2 separate regions of the Homo sapiens genome follow, and region 1 is linked to region 2. Evidence: promoter capture Hi-C in human tissues and cell types (Jung and others, 2019). All regions are on one chromosome and are shown on one strand. The core of a region is centred on a gene start or on the middle of the fragment in contact, and the rest is flanking DNA. Distances in the headings are between cores, read along the strand shown. Region 1 has its middle 18 kb from the start of IER2. Region 2 holds the start of NANOS3 (nanos C2HC-type zinc finger 3).

Region 1 (4,198 bases), core at 1,250-3,749, 710 kb after region 2:
TGTTATCCACCTGCCTCGGCCTCCCAAAGTGCTGGGATTACAGGCGTGAGCCACCATGCCTGGCCTAAGAAAAAAACTTTTTAAATTAGCTGACCATGGTGGCCCACATCTGTAGTCCCTGCTACTCAGGAGGGTGAGGTGGGAAGAATTGCTTGAGCCTAGGAGTTTGAGGCTGCAGTGAGCTATGATCATGCCATGAGCTCCAGCCTGGGTAACAGAATGAGACCCTGTTTCAATAAAAAAACAAAACACAACAAAACAGGAGTTGGAAGACAAAGTTTTGGAGAAGAAGTGAGATTCTCACTGGCCTGGAACACCAAGCAAGAGGGGGCTTGGGGCTGCCTGGGTTGCTGGGAAGAGCTGCCAAGGGACCTGTCCAGTCTGGGGAGTGGCCAGGCCAGCAGGGAAGACAGCAGGAGCATCCCTCCTAGCTGAGCATTGTCCCCATCTTTTCAAAATTTACAGGTCAGCTGCCAGGGAGGGAGCCACCCAGAGCAGAGGATGGGCTCACTCGGGTTATCTGGGACAATCACAGGTAACCTCAGTCTGTCTGAGGCAGCCTGAGGGTGGGGCAGAGAATTTCCCAGGAGCCCTGTGGGGTGGGGTGTGCCTGGCTGTGTGGGACCCGCTGGGCCTGGACAAGGCAACTCTGAGAGTTAAGGAGACCGAGCTAGCCCGTCCAGTCTGACCAGAAACCCAGGCTCAAGGTTGGGATATGAGGCCATGGGGGTGGATCCTAGCTCCAGACTCCCAGCCTCAGGGACAGGGCTGGCTTAGTCATCGTGGAACCACTGGGAAGTTGAGGGATGTGTGTGCCTGCCCCACCCTCCACCCCAGGGATGTCCAGAGAGTCATGAGAAAGAGGGACAATGACCAGGCGTAGTAGCTCATCACAGTACTTTGGGAGGCAGAGGCAGGAGGCTCACTTGAAATCAGGAATTGGAGACCAGCCTCAGCAACATAGCAAGACCCCATATCTGCAAAAAAAATTAAAAAATTAGCCAGGCATGGTGATGTACACCTATAGTCCCAGCTACTTGGGAGGCTGAGGTGGGAAGATCACTTGAGCACAGGAGTTCAGGGCTGCAGTGAGCTATGATCATGCCACTACATTGCAACCTGGGTGACAGAGTGAGACCCTGTCTCTAAAAAAACAAACAAAAGAAAAAAGAAAAAGAAGAAAGGCCGGGCTCACGCCTGTAATCCCAGCATTTTCAGAGGCTGAGGCTAATGGATAACTTGAGGCCAGGAGTTTGAGATCAGCCTGGCCAACATGGTGAAACCCTGTCTCTACTAAAAATACAAAAATCGGCCAGGCATGGTGGCACATGCCTGTAGTCCCAGGTACTGGGGAGGCTGAGGCAGGAGAATTGCTTGAACCTGGGAGGTGGAGGTTGCAGTGAACTGAGATGGCACCACTATACGGCAGCCTGGGTGGAAAAAAAAAAAAAGTCAAGTAAAAGAAAGAGGCACAAGCCTGGGAGAAAGGAGGGGAACCAATGAGGATCCCAGGCATATGGAGATACAGCAGTGCCCACTCAGTGCTCAGAGAACAAAGGCCCTCCCATGAACACCCCCAATTACAAGTGGCCTCATCATAGCACTGCTGCCCTGCCCCTGCCAGAGCTGCAAAGCAAAGCAGAGAGAGGTTACATTATAGACATGTAACAAATGTTCTTATGTACGCCATACATATGCAAAAATAACTGATTTTCTTGAGACTGGGCCTTGCTTTGTTACCCAGGCTGGAGTGCAGTGACATGATCATAGCTCACTGCAGCCTCAAACTCCTGGGCTCAAGCCACCCTCCCGCCTCAGCCTCTAGAGTAGCTGGGACTACAGGTGTGCGCCACCACACCTGGCTAATTTTTTGCAGAGATGGGGGTGTGGTGGTCTTGCCATGTTGCATAGGTTGGTCTCGAACTCCTAGCCTCAAGTGATCATCCCACCTCAGCCACTCAAAGCTTTGGAATTACAGGCATCAGCCACTTTGCCTGGCTTAATTTTTTTTTTTTTTTCAGATGGAGTCTCAAAGTCTGGAGCAATGAAACCTCCTCCTCCCGGGTTCCTGATTATCCTGAGTCAGCCTCCTGAGTAGCTGGGGCTACAGGTGCATGCCACCACCACCAGCTAATTTTTGTATTTCTAGTAGAGTCAGGGTTTCACCATGTTGTCCAGGCTGGTCTCGAACTCCTGACCTCAAGTGATCCACCTGCCTCGACCTCCCAAAGTGTTGAGATTACAGGCGTGAGCCACTGCACCCTCTGAAACCCATGGTGAAACCCTGTCTCTACTAAAAATACAAAAAGTAGCCAGGTGTGGTGGCGCACGCCTGTCGTCCAGCTACTCGGGAGGCTGAGGCAGGAGAATCATTCGAACCTGGGAGGTGGAGGTTGTAGTGAGCTGAGATCACACCACTGCACTCCAGCCTGGGCGACAGAGTGAGACTCTGTCTCAAAAAAGAAAAAGAAAAAGAAAAAAAACCTCCCAGACTGAAGAGAAGGCTTTGGTAGATCCAGGGGCATGCACCCTCAGCTTCCCCCTCCAAACTGGCTTCATATCCAACCCTCATGGGAGGGAATTTCTGGTCCCAAACAGCATGACAGTACTTTGAAAATTCCAGTATCTGTTTATAAGGTAGTGTCCGCAGGGATTTGGAAAGTGTCTGGAGAACGCGTGGAAGGCAGCGCGCAGACTTTAGTGGCCTCCCCCAGCCAGCAGCACGAAGGGGTAAAAGGGTCCCAAGAGCCCCACCCCACCTACCGCCACCTCATCCTGAGTCTGAGAGCTGCAGCCCGCACAGACCAGGCAGTGAGTAATTGCAGGTTTGCTTCAAGCCTTCCGGGTCGTGAGAAACCAAAGTTTCACTCCGGAAGGGCGCGCCTCGGCAGCAGGGGAGAGAAGGAAGGGGGTTGGGGGTGGGGTGGTCTCAGGTGGAGGTTGGCAGCGAGCTGGCCTGGAGCCCAGGCTCCAGAGCTTACCAAGCCCCAGCTGCTGGGCCCCGGCCCCTCTGGCCTCTGACACGCCCCTGACTAGGCGGCCTCCCGACAGGCCCTCCCTGCCCCCCGGTCTAAAGGCTGAAGCAATGAGCCATTTCCTTTCCCGTGAACTCAGCCAGGGCCCCGCTGATTGCAGACACCACCAGCAAGGATGGGTACCAGGAAATGGCGGGGGCAGAGGGAGGAGATTGCAGCAGCCTCTCCAGTCTAGCAGTTTGATCATGCTCAGTAAATAATGTTTACAAAACAAGTAAATAAACAAGTGAGGGTGGGGCGCAGTGGCTCACGCCTGTAATCCCAGCACTTTGGGAGGCTGAGACAGGTGGATCACGAAGTCAGAAGTTCAAGATCAGCCTGGCCAAGATGGTGAAACCACATCTCTACTAAAAATACAAAAATTAGCCGGGCATGGTGGTGCACACCTGTAATCCCAGCTCCTCAGGAGGCTGAGGCAGAGAATTGCTTGAACCCGGGAGGCGGAGGTTGCAGTGAGCCGAGATCGCGCCTTGCACTCCAGCCTGGGTGACAGAACGAGACTCCATCTCAAAATAAATAAATTTAAATAAACAAGTGAACAACAGCAAACAAAAAACTTTGTCTTTACCCAGCCCCTGGACTGAGCGTGCACAGATTGACCCCTGGGGAAGTGTTCATCCTGCAGAAAGGGGAGAAGAGAGGAAAATGAAGTGAAGTGGCAAATGATTCTAAGAGGGAACCTGGTGAGTGATCAGCCCTGGATATGAGGAAAGAGAAAACAGGTAGCCCAGGAGTGGCAAGGAGACCTGGGGTGCGGCTCTCAGCTCCCAGAAGGAGCTGGTTCCTTATCTGAGAACCAGAGATAGAAGCTGGGTTTAAGCAAAAGTTCACCAACCAGGACAAAGGTCCTCACACTCTCCTCCTCCCCACCGAAAAGAAAAGAAAAGAAGAAAAATCCGGCCGGGCGTGGTGGCTCACACCTGTAATCCCAGCACTTTGGGAGGCCGAGGCGGGCAGATCACGAGGTCAGGAGTTCGAGACCAGCCTGACCAACATGGTGAAACCCCGTCTCTACTTAAAAAAAAAAAAAATACAAAAATTAGCTGGGCACGGTGGTGCACGCCTGTAATCCCAGCTACTCAGGAAGCTGAGGCAGGAGAATTGCTTGAACCTGGGAGGCAGAGCTTTCAGTGAGCCAAGATTGGGCCATTGCACTCCCACCT
Region 2 (4,546 bases), core at 266-2,765:
GATAGAGCGAGACTCTATCTCAAAAAAAAAAATTAAAAAAAAAAAGGAAGAAAAATAAATTGATAAATAAATAAAATAAAAGTCTTCTTTCTGCATCTATAATAACCCTGCGGGCCAGATGTGGTGGCTGATGCCTGTAATCCCAGCACTTTGGGAGGCTGAGGAGGGTGGATCACGAGGTTGGGAGTTCGAGACCAGCCTGGCCAACATGGTGAAACCCCATCTCTACTAAAAATACAAAAATTAGCTGGCCATGGTGGCAGGCGCCTGTAATCTCAGCTTCTCAGGAGGCTGAGGCAGAAGAATCGCTTGAACCCGGAAGGCAGAGGTTGCAGTGAGCCAAGATCATGCCACTGCACTCCAGCCTGGGTGACAGAAAGAGACTCTGTCTCAAGATAAATAAATAAATACATAAACAAACTGGCTCGGTGCGGTGCTCACGCCTGTAATCTCAGCAGTTTGGGAGGCCGAGGTGGGCGGATCACGAGATCAGGAGTTTTGAGACCAGCCTGGCCAACATGGTGAAACCCCATCTCTACTAAAAATACAAAATTTAGCCGGGCATGGTGGCAATTAGCCGGGTGTGGTGGCGCGCGCCTATAATCCCAGCTACCCAGGAAGCTGGGGCAGGAGAATCGCTTGAATCCAGGAGGTGGAGGTTGCAGTGAGCCGAGATGGCGCCACTGCACTCCAGCCTGAGCAACAGAAAGAGACCTGTCTCAAGATAAATAAATAAATACGTAAATAAAATCAACTGCTGTTCTAAGCTCTCTCTAAGGTCTTCCCCTAACCCTTGGAGGTGGGTACTGGGGCTAATCTTACTTCACAGGGGGGCTCAGCCACTACCCTCGGACAGGTCCCCCCCAGCCACCTGTGCAGGCACCTGCTCCTCCTCCTCCTCCTCGGCGGTGGCCTGTGTCCTGTGTCTTCGCCTTGTCAGGCCGGACCAGCTTCTTGCCTGCCGAGTTTCGGGTGGTGTGGCTGTAGACGGAGGTGTAGCCCTGGCCAGTAAGTGGGCAGAAGCGTCGGGTGTGGGCGCGCTCACGTGTGGCGCCGCACTGGGGACACACGTAGTCCCGCAGGATGGGACACAGCACCCTGCCAGCCTCGTCCTTCAGCACGTGGGACTGGTAGATGGCCCGGGACTCGCCGTTGTGTTTGCAGAAAGAGCACAGGCGTTCGGGAGCTGGCGAGGACTCCAGGCTGCGCTTCTGATCCTTGGGTCCCGGCACTGGCACCGACTCCGGCGCTGGCATCGGCTCCAGGGCTGACACCGGCTCCAGCATTGGCTCTGGCTCTGGCTGGGGGCTCAGCCTGGTTTCAGGACCCTCTTTCCCACTCAGAGCCCTAACCAGGTGTGCCAAACCCAGGTAATCTGTCCACAGGTCAAAGGTCCCCATAGCTGGGCAGCATGTGCCAGGCGGAAGGAGTCACAGAGACAAGTAACCCTGCCTGGCTTAAGCTCCCTCCTTCTGACCCCTCTCTGCTGCCCCTTCCTTCCCCTCTCTGGAGCCTGGGAGTCTGTGCTGGCCGACCCTCCTTTTACCTCCAAGGGGGTGTGAAGAGGGAGGAGCAGGCTGTGGGAGGTTCCTTATTGTCACAGGGGGGCCTGGTGCCCCACTAATACTCCTCCTAAAGGGCTGTATGGCCTCTGGCTGTGCCGGGGGACTACAGGACACAGGGTGTGTGGGGGGGCATCCTGCGAGGTGCACCACAGCCCCCCGTACACACCTCCAGGGAATTGGGGGGCTACCCTGCCTCCCCTCCTTGTAGGAGTCCTTAGCCCTCCAGCCCCACTGGAGGATGGGGAGAATGGGTTGGAAACCCCACCCCCAAAGACTAGCAGTTACCAGTAACTTAAAGAAGTTAACTTAGTAACTTCTTTATAACTTTTTCTTCCTTCCCCTGGGCGGGGGAGTGGCCAGGTGCCCCTGGGTTCTTTGTGTGTGTGTGTGTCCAGGCGGGAGGTTGCTGATGCTCCAGCTGTCTCTGAAAGGAGTGTGGTAGTCCCAGGCTCATGGGCTGGTTGCGGGGGTAGGGGGGAAGGATCATGCCCCCCGGCCCCCAGCTCTGGTCTCCCTCCAAGAGTTTTCACATCGGTTGTCTTAGTGGAACCCCCATTGAATGGATGAGCAAACTGAGGTGTGAAGCCACCTGCCCATCCAGTTATTTATAAAGACATGCACCAGGCCAGGGAGTGGTGGCTCATGCCTGTCATCCCAACAGTTTGGGAGGCCAAGACAGGCGGATCACCTGAGGTCAAGAGTTCGAGACCAGCCTGGCTAACATGGTGAAACCCTGTCTCTACTAAAAATACACACACACACACACACACACACAAAATTAGCTGGGCATGGTGGCGGGTGCCTGTGATCCCAGCTACTCAGGAGGCTGAGGCAGAAGAATTGCTTGAACCCAGGAGGCAGAGGTTGCGGTGAGCCAAGATCAAGCCACTGCACTCCAGCCTGGGAAACAGAGTAAGACTCTGTCTCAAAACAACAACAACAAAAAGCACCACATCTGCCTCCTTCTTCTAGTTACTGGGGCCCCCTGAGGCTAGGTGCTGGGGAGGGAGCCCTTTCCTGGCGGGGGCTGCAGAGGGGTGAGAAAGAACCCTCTGGAGTTGGGAGGTGGGGGATAGCAAGTTGGGCTGTTAGGAGGGGACCCCTAGTACCTACAGGTCTTCAGTGTCCTCCCCGAGATGAGATCTCAGCTCAGTCCCAGGAGGGGAGGGTGTGCTCAGGACTTGGACACAGAGGAGAGACGCTGTGCCGCTTACACAGCTCATCCACCCATCCATTCATTTAAGAAACTTTTATTGGCCAGGCACTGTGGCTCATTTTGAGAGGCCGAGGAGGATTGCTTGAACCTAGGAGTTGGAGACCAGCCTGGGCAACGTTTTGAGACCCTGTTCCTACAAAAACACTTTTTCGAAATAAGCTAGGTGTGGTGGTGCGTGCCCGTGGTTCCGGCTACTGGGGAGGCTGAGGCGGGAGGATCAACGCTTGACTCCAGTTATTAGAGGCTGCAGTGAGCTAAGGTCACACCATTGCACTCCAGCCTGGGTGACAAGAGCGAGATCCTGTCTCTAATTTAAAAAACAAAACTATGGAGCACTCCACGGAGCAGAACTTACCACCCACATTTCAGAAAGGGGTTTTAGGCCAGGCAAAGTGGCTCATGCCTGTAATCCCAGCACTTTGGGAGGCCGAGGGGGGAGGATTACTTGAGGTCAGGAGTTTGAGACCAGCCTGGCCAACACAGTGAAATCTCGTCTCTACTAAAAATACAAAAATTAGCCCACTGTGGTGGCAGATGCCTGTAATCCCAGCTACTTGGGAGGCTGAGGCCAGAGAATCACTCAAACCCTGGAGGCAGAGGTTGCAGTGAGCTGAGATTGGGCCACTGCACTCCAGCCTAGGCAACAGAGTGAGACTCTGTCTTAAAAAAAAAAAAAAAAGGGGATTTTAGCTGCCCTGCCCCAGCCTGTTTACCCCCAACCCTCTAATATTTAGTCCCAAATCCAGCCAGAGCCCATCCAGATTCCAGACACCAGCTCTCCTCTCCAAAGAGGAGTGGTTGGGGTCAGGGCAAAAAACAGGCTGAGTGACTGTGGCGGTGGGGGGTCCTGTCCCCAGTCCCCATTCCCCTTAAGCCGTGTCTGGCCCAGCCACAGTGACATTCATCCCCCGGTGGGTCTGGCCTCAGTCCTCACAACCCACCGACAACAATGAATGTTGATTGTGACCTCGGCTGTGGCCTAGGGGAGGGGACGTGCCCAGGCTGGATTGGGGGCTCCCCAGGCCCCCCTAGATCTGGAAGGTCAGAGTCACCGGCAGGAGGATGGCAATTCCAGGCCTCAGGGTCCACTCAACGGTCGATGGTTTGCCTGAGCTGCCCAAACTCACCGACAGGTTGAATGTTCCCCCAAACCCTTGGCAAATTTTCCGGGACCTGGAGTCGGGGGTGGGGTAGGTGGCAGGGAACCAGAGAGCATGAAGAGGGAGAGGAGGAGAGAGTAAGGAACCCCTTTTCTCTCATGAAATAAACAAACGCTTTTCAGGTGCTGTTTGCACCTAGATCTGGGAAAAACACAAGGCAAATATAAATGCTAGTAAATAAAATGTAGCCTTTGCTATGGGGATGGAGATGTAGCAGTGCAGGGGAGTGCTGGCCTCAAGCCCGCTCCTTAAGTAATTCACAAAGTGATCCTGGAGGTGCAGATTACCCCCCTTTGTCAACTGGGGAGACTGAGGCCAAAGGCCACTGCTAGTCCGAGGTGGAGGAGGCATTCCAAGTGTTCCCGGGAAGTCTGGCAACGGAGGATCCTGGCCCCGAGGGCATTGATGCAACGTGGAGATAAACAAGCCATTTTAATACAATGTAATACGTTCTGGGAGCTTCACTGAGTTCCGGGCACGATGGTTTAGGAATCACAACAGCGTGAGTGGAGCGCTTGGGGGTGGGGGGTCGTCAGGTCTCTCCACTTTACAAGTGCACTGGGGCCCCACTAGACAGGGGAGAGGCAGGAGGTTCAGAGAGGGCG

Evidence for each region. Contacts are between HindIII fragments. The study calls those that stand out against the background at their distance.
Region 1: a fragment that was not itself captured here is called in contact with the fragment with the promoter of NANOS3 in region 2 in 1 of the 25 tissues and cell types used here (hippocampus).

Annotation. Positions count from the first base shown.
Region 1 is chr19:13,166,496-13,170,693 of GRCh38, reverse strand. No RefSeq gene overlaps it. Among named protein-coding and RNA genes, the nearest start is that of IER2, 18 kb to the right of the region's middle. RefSeq lists enhancers at 71-571, 572-1,072, 2,765-3,392. The HindIII fragment of the contact is 8,994 bases long and covers 1-4,198 here.
Region 2 is chr19:13,874,103-13,878,648 of GRCh38, reverse strand. It overlaps NANOS3 (nanos C2HC-type zinc finger 3), which reads right to left and starts at 1,515. Exons shown (of 2, transcript NM_001098622.3): 1 at 884-1,515. The coding sequence starts at 1,400. It overlaps MIR181C (microRNA 181c), which reads right to left and starts at 3,950; the gene lies at 3,841-3,950. MIR181D (microRNA 181d) reads right to left here and starts at 3,774; the gene lies at 3,638-3,774. The HindIII fragment of the contact is 41,747 bases long and covers 955-4,546 here.